4 separate regions of the Homo sapiens genome follow, and regions 2, 3 and 4 are each linked to region 1. Evidence: promoter capture Hi-C in human tissues and cell types (Jung and others, 2019). All regions are on one chromosome and are shown on one strand. The core of a region is centred on a gene start or on the middle of the fragment in contact, and the rest is flanking DNA. Distances in the headings are between cores, read along the strand shown.

Evidence for each region. The method cuts DNA at HindIII sites, captures the fragments that hold promoters and counts their contacts. A contact is called where the count stands out against the background at its distance.
Region 2: a contact is called between a fragment that was not itself captured here and the fragment with the promoter of LYSMD4 in region 1, in 1 of the 25 tissues and cell types used here (dorsolateral prefrontal cortex).
Region 3: a contact is called between a fragment that was not itself captured here and the fragment with the promoter of LYSMD4 in region 1, in 1 of the 25 tissues and cell types used here (mesendoderm cells).
Region 4: a fragment that was not itself captured here is called in contact with the fragment with the promoter of LYSMD4 in region 1 in 3 of the 25 tissues and cell types used here (dorsolateral prefrontal cortex, mesendoderm cells and spleen).

The regions. Positions count from the first base shown.
Region 1 is chr15:99,732,079-99,734,918 of GRCh38, forward strand. It overlaps LYSMD4 (LysM domain containing 4), which reads right to left and starts at 1,359. Exons shown (of 3, transcript NM_001284417.2): 1 at 1,267-1,359. RefSeq lists silencers at 809-918, 959-1,688. The HindIII fragment of the contact is 11,257 bases long and covers 1-2,840 here.
Region 2 is chr15:98,863,524-98,866,363 of GRCh38, forward strand. The region is part of intron 2 of IGF1R (insulin like growth factor 1 receptor); the gene reads left to right. Among named protein-coding and RNA genes, the nearest start is that of MIR4714, 81 kb to the left of the region's middle. The HindIII fragment of the contact is 4,208 bases long and covers 1-2,840 here.
Region 3 is chr15:99,156,575-99,159,414 of GRCh38, forward strand. The region is part of intron 11 of TTC23 (tetratricopeptide repeat domain 23); the gene reads right to left. Among named protein-coding and RNA genes, the nearest start is that of TTC23-AS1, 19 kb to the left of the region's middle. The HindIII fragment of the contact is 3,393 bases long and covers 1-2,840 here.
Region 4 is chr15:99,208,903-99,211,742 of GRCh38, forward strand. The region is part of intron 8 of TTC23 (tetratricopeptide repeat domain 23); the gene reads right to left. Among named protein-coding and RNA genes, the nearest start is that of TTC23, 39 kb to the right of the region's middle. The HindIII fragment of the contact is 3,671 bases long and covers 1-2,840 here.

The DNA.
Region 1 (2,840 bases), core at 109-2,608:
GTGTCTTGTTAGAGAGTATTCCTTTTCCTAATCGCTGCAAATACTCAGCATACATCATCAACAGAAAAAAAAGAATGTGCTTATGCTGGCTGAGATGGAAGAAGATAGGCAGAATAAAAACCCTTTGTTTTTTCTAATCGCATACGTTTTGTGCAGAAAACGAACCCCGCCCCTGTTCCTCATCCATAGCTGTCTCCCCTAAACCCACATCTGTAAAGAAACAACTACTTTTGCTCTCAGAGTAGTAAGTTGAGATCCTTGCAATGGCAAGTAAGGGCTGCCGCCAGCCTCCGCGCACTCAGAATCTTCAACTCAGAAGCTTTGCACAATAATTTTGTATTCAATATTTTACACATTGCAAAGTATCTTCACTAAGAAGGTCAGCGCTAAGGACTCTTGCTCAGAACTGTGGGGCTAAACTGCTCTTACTTTGACACAGTTTAACTCACAGTATGTGGGGCAAGCTACGGGGAGAACTCATGCCTGTCAGCCGGAGAAAAGCGTCCAGTTTGCTCACGGGTCACTTTGCATTCATTACATCCCCATTGTCTGGTTTTTATTTTCCCCTTGAGTCAACAGCCAAAGCCGCAAGACCCCTGTTCCTCTCTCCAGATTGTTCGCGTGAGATTCCAGAAACGAAATCTCAAACACGCGGGCTGACAACTTCAGAAAAAGGTGGCTTCGGAGCCACAGGGGAGCAGCCCGTACGGGGACAGCCTGCGGCCCCAGCTCGACCCCCTACTCCCCGCCCACGCCTTCGAGGGTCACAGGCCCACACCCCGCTCCGCGCGCTCCTGAGCCTGCCCGGAGGCGGGAGGCGGCCGGCGGTCCTCGGGGGGTTGAGGGTCACCTGCAGGACCACGGCGGCAGCCCGGGGACGGGGCCAGCCTTCGCGTCCGAGCTCAGGGGCGGCGGCAGCAGCTCCAGGCCCGCTTCCCTCCAAGTCCCTTCTGCGAAAAGATGGGGCACCTCAACAAGAGCTGACAGGAAAATGGGGAGCGGCCCGGCCCCAGGGCTCCACGGCTCCACGGGCGGGGCCCTAACATTCCAGAGGGCAGAACCTCTGACCTCTGACCCCCAACCCTAGCCACCTGGGGCCAGCCCACGACAGTCGCGGTCACCGCCCCTCCAGCTGGAGCGTCCCCCTAGGAGCCCGGGGAGGGGCGGCCCGCCCGCGAACCCTCGAGCGAGGCCAGGTCGCCGTACCGCCATGAGCCCGCGCGGCTCCCTAGCCAGACCGCGGCCCCCTCGTCCAGGCCCCGGTACCTCAGCGCCCAGGCTCCGCCGCGACCGGCGACCGGCGACTCGCGACCCGCGACCCGCGACCCGCAGCTGCCACCGCGCCTGCGGATTGGCTACGAACATCAGCAGGGCCCCCCTGGGGGCGGGACTGGGGAGGCAGCCAATGAAGTCAGCGCTGGGCGGGCACTGGAGCGAGCCTGGCTGCGCGGAGAGCTCATCCCGGGACCACAGGGCCCGGGGCGGGGCTCGGGGCGGGGCTCGGGGCGGGGCTCGACAGGGTTCCACACCCCGGAAGTGGCCCTCGCCCCGCCCACCCGCCTACCAGGTCTACCCGCGCGGGCCCTGGCTTGTTTTCGCGTCTGTTCGGAGTAATAAGGCACCTCAGCTCCTCCCTCCCAAAGTGCTTGGCTTTCTGCTGAGCCGCAGCTTTCTCGCCCGTAAAGAGGCCTTTGACCCCACTTGTGGGTAATGATCTGTAGCTGTGACTCGGGGTGGATTCCAGTAGCGTGGGGTCCCCTGAGCCCTCCTGCGGGGAAGGGCTGGGCGCAGATGGGCGAGGGGTCTTTCTGCGGCGGGATCTGCGCTCCTGGGCCTTTGAGGGCCGCACCAGGGGAGGCATTGCCCCACCCCGAGAAGAAAACAGAAATCCACGAGTGTAAAACATGGATGCGGACAACAGGGACCAAGAAAACTTAAGTCGTGTTTATCAAATGTCAGGTGGCCGAGGATTTCTTAAGATGAAAAGTGGTGGAAGAATTCTCACACACTGGCCGGGCGCGGTGGCTCACGCCCGTAATCCCAGCACTTTGGGAGGCCGAGGCTGGTGGATCACGAGGTCAGGAGTTCGAGACCAGCCTGGCCAAGATGGTGAAACCCCGTCTCTACTAAAAAAATAAAAATAAAAAAAAATAAAAAAGTTAGCCGGGCATGGTGGCGGGCGCCTGTAATCCCAGCTACTCAGGAGGCTGAGACAGAGGATTGCTTGAACCCGGAGGCGGAGGTTGCAGTGAGCCGAGATCGTGCCACTGCACTCCAGCCTGGGCAACAGAGGGAGACTCCATCTCAAAAAAAAACAAAAACAAAAACCTCACACACTAAGGCACAAAGTTCAGAGCTTCTACTTAAAAAGGAAAACCAAAATTAAAAAGCAGATAACCTAGGGAAAATAAACTGAACACAACAAAGGATTAAAATCCTTCGCTGAGAGAGACTTCATATGAATAGGAAAGATGCTAAGACCTCAGCAGGTCTGAGGGAGACCTCAGAGAGACAGGAGCAGATAATTCAGCAAACAATGCAAATGGTCAACAGGTTGAAAATGTTTTTAACCCTCACTTGCAATCAGATTAAACAACAAAGCAAACATTAAAACAAGATCTCACAAACCTTTTCCCACTAATAGGATTTGACTGTGTCCACACCCAAAACTCATCTTGAATTGTAGCTCCCACAGTTTCCACCTGTTGTGGGAGGGACCTGGTGGGAGGTGATTGAATCATGGGAGCAGGTGTTTTCTGTGCTGTTCTCCAGATAGCGAATGAGTCTCACTAGATTTGATGGTTTTATAAAGGGAAGTTGCCCTGCACAAGTTCTTTTCT
Region 2 (2,840 bases), core at 165-2,664, 870 kb before region 1:
TCTACTCTCAGGATTTTATGTATTTTTTAACAGTGAGGGACATAAACTTTTTAACTAGCAGTGGCAAGTCCACTTTTATTTGGGAGGACAATTACTAGTCACATGAAGAAGAAAAAATATGCAGAAGCTTAAGAAATCCCACATATGAATGTTATTTGAAATGTTCTTGCCCTTTCTCCCTACAAAGGAGGTGAAGAAGATGACAGGAGATGTTAATTGCCAAAATAGTCTCATAGTTTTGGTCCTGGCTGCAAATCTCTCGTTTTTGATACTCAAGAGAATGCTATTGGGGAACTGACTCTGAAGCACAGCCCAGATGCTTGAGATGGGTTGGGAAGGTTTACATCAACACCATGAATTTAATTTATCATGTGACATTTTATTTCTGAGTTTTTAAAGCTGTAATTAAAAGAAGTGTTCAAAGTGTTGCTTTCCTCTTTTAGAATAAACGTGGCTGGGTGTGGTGCCTCATGCCTGTTATCCCAGCACTTTGGGAGGCCATAGGCAAGAGGATTGCTTGAGCCAGGAGTTTGGGACCAGCTTGGGCAACATAGGGAAACCACATCACTACAAAAAAAAAAATTAGCCTGTCATGGTAGCATGCACCTGTGGTCCCACTTACTTGGGAGGCTGAGGTGGGAGGATCACCTGAGTTCAGGAGGTCAAAGCTGCAGTGAGGTGTGATCATGCCCCTGCTCTCCAGCCTGGACAACAGAGCAAGACACTGTCTCAAATAAATAGGCAAACATTACCAACATGGCAAACAAGTTGGAGGAGGCCCCCTATTTAATTAAATTTCAGCAGTCCCAAATCTAATTGGTATGAAGAAATCATTATTCAGAATTTTCCATCACTGAAATACTAAAATCACTTGTTGTTTGAGACATCTTGGCCTGTCACCCAGGCTGGAGTGCAGTGTTGCTCTCATAGCTCACTGGAGCAGGAGCCTCAACCTCCCAGGTTTAAGTTAATGCTCCCACCTCAGCCTCCTGAGTAACTGCCACTACAGGCGTGTGCCACCATGCCCAGCTAATTTTTTAATTTTTCGTAGAGATGGGGTCTGTGTTGCCCAGGTCCCTCTTGAACTCCTGGCCTCAAGCTATCTTCTCCAGTCGGCCTCCCAAAGGGCTGTGATTACAGGCGGGAGCCACAGCGCTCAGCCTAAAAATAACTCTTTAGCCAAAAGAAAGTTTTAAAAAATTGTCTGTTGTATTCTTTGATTTTACTCTATGTGGTCTTTTCTATTATTTTTAAAATAAAAAAGATTTATACTCCTCAAGTGTAACATTTTATCAAATCTCATGCTTCTGTTTGATGAAACCGAATGGCTAAATTTTTTAAATATCATGCAATCCATCCCAGTTTGTAATTTTATTATGGCCCTCACACAAGAGCGTGCAAGCTATACTAAGCTTCCTGTGGCCCTCGTTTTTCCTCACTGATATTTGTAACTCATTCCAAATTAAATTTTAGGAGTCTGAAATGTAGCTGTTATATTTGGGAGATGTGAAGAAAAGAATCGTAGGCATCTCAGTAGGCTAGGTATCAGATCACACATGCTTGCTGGACCAAAGAGGACTCCTTACAGTAGGATACATGATTCTGAGTTAGTTTGTGTACTAAGTATATACTATATAGCTTTTGAAGGGGAGACGGGCACAGAATTCACAATATCATGCACTAAGGGTTATTTTGTGTTTGCAGTTTCCAGATGAATGTTTTAAAGTTGGCTGCAGAATACAGCGAGATAGGTAAAATCTATTTGAGTATTACTTACAGACCCCAAAGGATATCCCAAAGGATATGTTGGACTAATTCCTAAAATATCCTGTAAGTCATTGCAGGTACAGGCGTGGATCTGGGTTTGGAAACGCCGCCTGGATCGCTGGCTGGGCTCCTGCAGCCGCCAAGGAGGGGCTGGCTGGAGGTGGGGCTCGGCGTGCATAGCGGCCACGTGACTGCGCCCCGGCCACGCCCACCGTCCCTCACGTGGTCCCAGGCCACGCTGGGCTTCGGCATGTGCTAAAGTGGATAGAAAAGGGAGTGGGGCCCGGGCGTGGCTTTGTGGTTTGGGAAGATATGAACTCCTTGGGGTTTTTTTCTCTTTTAATTCTTTAATTTTGATATTTGGAAATGCGTAAAAGGTTTTTCATTTGTCCTTGACCACGTGGTCCAAACCTCAATTTCCCTAGCAGAACGCGGTTTCGATCACTGGTGGATCCGTCTCACAGCACCAGTCATGCTGCCTCGCTGGGAAGTGGAGGGCTCAGGATTCCCGTGGTTCACGATCCATTTTATGTTGGAAGGAAATCATTTTGAACTATCTCAGTACACACCCTAGTGTATCTTTAAACCTAATTGAGTGTTGATGGAAAATCTGCGGTCCGAGAACCGTAAGAAAAGGGGGCTCCCACCTCCCGCTCTGGGGTCGCCACTTGCCTCGCAGGCAGGAGGAGGCTCCCAGAGTAGATACAACTTGCCCGTCACCCGGATGGGTTGGTAGTGCACATATGCACGGGGCGCAGTTTAAAATGAAAGTAAAAGATGCAAATGTGTTTGCAAAAGAAAAATTAACATAGGATACGTGCGGGCGTTCTCAGTTGAACTCGGTCTTACTGTTCCACGCGAGCACCCCATGACTCAGAGCCCAAATCTCAGCGGAACAGCCCAGGACGCTCCTGCCGTCCACAGGAAGACGCCTCTGTCTCTGTCCCCCGCCGCCACCACACAGATGCACGTACTCTCTTCACTTCCGTGTACCCAGTAAATGCAGATCCTGATTTAAATCTGCAGCACGCTGCTTTCTTCCCATTGCATGTGGGAAGCTTCAGGTTCTCTTC
Region 3 (2,840 bases), core at 81-2,580, 580 kb before region 1:
GAGATAAGTGCTGAGCAAAGGGGGCAAAGCCCCTTATAAAACCATCAGATCTTGTGAGAATTCAGTCACTATCGCAAGAACGGCATGGGGGTAACCGCACCCATGGTTCAATCACCTCCCACAGGGTCCCTACCATGACACATGGGTATTATAGGAACTATAATTCAAGACGAGATTTGGGTGGGGACACAGCCAAATCATATCACCTCTGGTTGAACAAGAGTCAGGAAACAACACGAATGTGAGGAAAGGTGTAAACTATGAAGAGAGAGGACACCTGGCAAAATAAACCCACTCAGCCATTACAGGAATCCATTTCAGTTGAGTAGTAAGAACAAAAGCTGACATGGATCAGTCCTCACATGTCACTAATTGTGCTGAACACACACAATTGTGTGGGTCTCATTTAATTTTTGCTGTCTTCTTTAGATGGGTAAAATTTTAATCCTCATTAGGCAGAGGAGGAAACAGGCACGGCAGTTAAGAAACTTGCTCAGAGTCAGAGGGCTCAGCTGTGGTGGTGCTAGGATCTGAATCCAGCCAGTGATCTTCATACCTTTTTTTTTTTTTTTTTTTAAATCCGTCTCACCGTCTCAGCAGATCTTCCATTTTACAACAGCAGGTGGAAATCTGGAGGTTTTTTTTTTTTTTTTTTTAGACAGAGTCTCTCTTTGTCTACCAGCCTGGAGTGCAGTGGCATGATCTCAGCTCTCTGCAACCTCTGCCTCCCAGGTTCAAGCGATTCTCCTGCCTCATCCTCCCAAGTAGCTGGGATTGCAGGCGCCCACCACCATACCCAGCTAATTTTTGTATTTTTAGTAGAGACAGGGTTTCACCATGTTGGCCAGACTGGTCTTGAACTCCTGACCTCAAGTGATCCACCCACCTTGGCATCCCAAAGTGCTGGGATTACAGGCGCGAGCCACAATGCCCAGTCTAATTTTCATACATTTTAGTCCCATGCTTTTCTCCCTCTGTCCACAATGCTATTCTTACAGAAGTGAAAATATAGCATTCCTGGGCAAATTATCTATGTATAGAACATCCTGAACACACTCCAGGCTTGGCTATTCTCATAGGAAATCGTTTAGGAAACTGAAAGTAAACATTCCAACATGACATGACATTTTGTTTGGTTTATCCAATTTATTTATACTAACATGGAATAAAAATTATGAATTGGTCAGGACATAGTATTTCCTGATATTAGCTTCTTCAGACACCAAAATATGCAGGGGGAAACCCTGTTAAAGTATGTCAATCCTCCATACTTTCTCCAGAAATTCTTCCACGATCTTCCACATGAAGGCACGACATCAGCTGCAGAGCATGGATGCTGAATTTAACTGGCAAATACAGCAGGGACCATGGGAGCTTCCTCATGACACAGCCCCAAAGGGGTCCCAAAAGTGCTCCACAAACAGAAGGACAAGGAGGGCGTTTAATCCTTTTGTTGGCAATAATACAAGTTAGGGGATAGGGCCGGGGTAGGGGAACCACATTACAGGTGCTGATGAGGCAGAAATAAATTTCTCAGGTGAAAGAGGAATCTCTGTAGAGGCAGAGTGATTGTGTAACTCAGCAGTGAGGCCCCACTGAGGTACATGAGGGACTAGAATTTAAATCTAGACTTGCCTGAGGGTAAAGCCCATCACATCTCCCAAGTTCTGAGAGCAAGGACTTGGACTGCTGAGAGTGCTGGGTTTGGTGATATTTCTGTGGGAAAATATCACTGTCAGACTTAGAGGAGCCAGTGATGGGGAGAAGACCCGGGGAGACTCCCTTTCCCAGATAAAGCTTTGGATGCCGCCTACAGCCTGACTGCGGAAACGGGGAGATGTGAAGGAAGTTAAATGGCACGGGTTTCTAGGAAACTGAGATAGTATCAACCTCTGCTAGGAAAAGCTTAAGAGAGAGGAGTGAAGAGTAAAGAGGACTTAGGTGGGATGAGAAGAGGGTATGGGCCACTGGGAGCACAGGAGGAACACATGGCCTGTTGAGGGCCAGTGAGTGGCCAGGCTGAGGAAGTCACAGAAGATTCTTGAGCAAAAGAGTGGCACAACTAGAAGACAAACCCTCACGGAGTAGCTTAACCTGTGGCAGAGTGACCTTCACTTACATTTTACCTTAAAAGGCATTTCATCCCTCAAATATCATGTTCCACAGTGCCCATGGCCATGTGCTGTGGGAACACCTGGGATGGCCTGAGCACAGCCCCATTCTTGGCTCCGGGACTGTCCCTGGGCCCGGCCCTTGTTGGCCAACACCTGCTAGAACCCACAGTGAGAGGTTTGCAACCAAATGGTGAGAACAGCATGAGACTGCCATGTTTGGCTGGGCAGGTGGTGCCACACACAAGGGTGCCTGGCAGGAGCATGGGGAGGGCTGAAATCCAGCCTATGGTCCTCTCCAACATGGGCGGTATCTACCTGAGGAAGGGGCAGCTTTTTCTATTATGATAAGGGCATTGGATGGGCTGGCAGTGGCCCTAGAATGAAAAGAGCCAGTTTGCTAAAATCTTCGAGGGCAGCTTAGGAGAGTGAGGTGCATCTTTTGATCAACACTGATCTGGGTGACTTGGGCAAGGGCAGTGAGGCATAGCATCAGTGACACTGAGCATTGGCTGACTCAGCAAGACACTATGGTGGGAAGCCAGGCAGTACAGGGGAACTGATGCATGGCCCACAGGAGTCAGAACAGTCAGCTGGCCTGTGGCCAAACATGCATCCACCTCTCTGCTCATCACTCCTCACCACAGGCAAGAGGGTCTCTGCTTTCACAGGTTCGGTCTAGTTGCAAGATAGATGTTAAATATCCACATGAATATATACTTACAAATA
Region 4 (2,840 bases), core at 98-2,597, 520 kb before region 1:
TACCTGCCAGGGATGATTTGAGGATTTATTATCTAGTGTATCCACAATGTACTTGGTAGCTTAAGAAATACACTAGACAGATGAAAAGACAGAAAATTTTGAATAACAGAATGTGGCAGTATGTTAATTTGGCAGGTGCACAACTTAAGCCATGGCATATTTTATTGAATGAAAGTTTATACGCAGTAATTCTACAGAGCACAAGAGGAGACACTATCTCATTGCAGACAAGTTTCAGATCTCATAGGGATGGAGACTCGTTTTAACAAGCAATAAACAAATGCAATTTCTGGTATTACTAAGGCAACAGAGTTTCCTTTTAAAAACTCTGGAATTTGGCAAGAATATTGAGCACCAGTATAAAGGAAAGGCTTTGTGTGAATATCACTGATCAGAATCTGATGAGAAACCAATCCCAAAAGATAACAAATGGGATTTTCCATAGCCAACATGAGAAAAGAATTACATCTGGGTATCTTTTTATCACCTGATACATACAGGTAAAGGCTTTGCTCTGTTGAATGCATTGTGGGGTTTCCAGTCTACATCAGTGAATGTAATGTGTGCCATGGTCAGGAGCTTGGACACTAGCGTTGAATAAGCAGGGCTCTGCTGGGCCACTTTCCAGCTTTATCGCTTCCTGCCTGTGTGACCCTGGAAGTGACCTCACTTCTCTCAGCTTTAGATGCTACATTTGAACATGGGAATACTAACAGTATCCACTACACAGAGAGGACTAAGAATGAAAGGAGATGACATCTGTAAAGCACTTAGCAAAAGCCTGACACAGAAGGTGGTCAATAATTGGTAGCTAGTGTGGTTTTAAAAAAATCATTATTATTATATTTTTGAGAAGGGGTCTCACTCTGTCACCCAGGTTGGAGTCCAGTGGCATGATCTTTGCTCACTGCAACCTCTGCCTCCCGGTCTCAAGCAGTCCTCCTACCTCAGCCTCTGGAATAGCTGGGACTACAGGTGTATGCTACAACGCCTGGCTAATTTTTTGTATTTGTAATTATGTATTAGTTGTATTAATTTGAGACAGGGTTTTGCCATGTTGCCCAAGCTGTCTCGAACTCCTGGGCTCAAATGGTCCGCCTGCTTCGGCCTCCCAAAGTTCTGGGATTACAGGTGTAAGTCACTGTGCCCTGCCTATTATTTGATATATATTATTATATGTTGTGTTATTTATTTAGAGATATATGATTATATATTTATGTTACATATTAATACTAATAACATGTCATTTTAAAACATGATTCTATTATTTAAATCATTATTCTCATATATTTAGGAAAAGGTACATTATAAGGGTATAATGTCAGAAAAGGAAAGACAGAAATGCAGTGCTCTAAAACATTAAAGCTTTAGGAGATTCAAGAAATAGAAAGCAGATAAAGTATATGAGAGTAACCTGTGCCATGTGGTTTTTCTTTGGCTTCCCCACATTGAAAATAATAATAATAAAAACAAAAATGAGACTTGTGTAAGTTAAGAGCATATCTTCAACCACAGAAATATAGGATTAGGAAGAGTCCCAGAGAAAAAAAGCAATTTCCTTCTTTGTTAAGTAAGCAAAAAGTATTCTAGGCACATAGTGTCCCACAGGAGCAGCTGACAGGAGAAACATGTCTGCTGGAGAAGAGCAGGATGTTCTCAGGGAGCAGGCAAGGGAGAAGCAGGACTTGGAACATGTGAGCATCTGTAAGAGCCTTTATGTCCAAAAGAGAGAAGCAGAGAAAATGCAACTTAGACATCAAGGAACCTCAGGTGATGGTAAGAACTAAAAATTTTTTTAAATGCTGAGTCCAGAAAGCAAAAGTTAGATGTAGAAATTTCTGACTGGACCAATTTTGGGAGGACTATGGGATCTAAGAGCAAAGGTTATTATTGAAGTATCAAAAATTCCACTGGGAAGCATTTCTGGAGCAGCTTATGGAACTAAGTAGAACCCCATCATCTCAATGAGGTGATGGCAGGTAGATACATATTCTGTTCCCCTTGCCACATCACTTCTCCATTATTTTCTCCTCCTTCCTAGTAAGTACGAGTTAAGGGAGAAATCTTCCCCATCCCCTTTCCTTTTGGAAAACTTGTGTTAGAATAACTTTCCAAACCTCACAACTTCAATGAATCAAGAGAGAGCAAGACAAAGAAACAAAATCAAGCTTAAGGAAATAAGAATATACAGGTTGGGTGCAGTGGCTCATGCCTGTAATCCCAGCACTTTGGGAGGCCAAAACAGGTGGATCACTTGAGGTCAGGAGTTTGAGACCAGCCTGGTCAACATGGTGAAACACTGTCTCTACTAAAAATACAAAAATTAGCTGGGCGTGGTGGCACACATGTGTAATCCCAGCTACTTGGGAGGCTGAGGCAGGAGAATCGCTTGAACCTGGGAGGTGGATGTTGCAGTGAGTCAAGATCACGCCACTGCACTCCAGCCTGGGTGACAGAGAGTCTCAAAGACAAAAAACAAACAAACAAAAAAAAAGAAGAAGTAAGTATATACAATTGTCTGATTTTAGCTTAGATGATTCATGAGAGCAAAGAAAACAAAATGTAGCCTTCCCAAGGCACAGGGAAAAAATGCAGAAAAAAATTGCACACCAAGGGCAGTCTTGAAGTACAAAACCTTAATATGTGATATAAGTACCTGATTTAAAATCACCTCTGGGATGAAACAGCAGAAAGGAAAATGTTCAATTAGATCATAATGATAATTATATTGCCCTTTTCTTTCTTGCTTTCTTGCTTCTGAGGGTCTCCCATGCACCTAGATGCTTTAAAGTAATATCTTTTTAATCTTCACAGCAACCCCTGGAGGTCTTATTATTTTC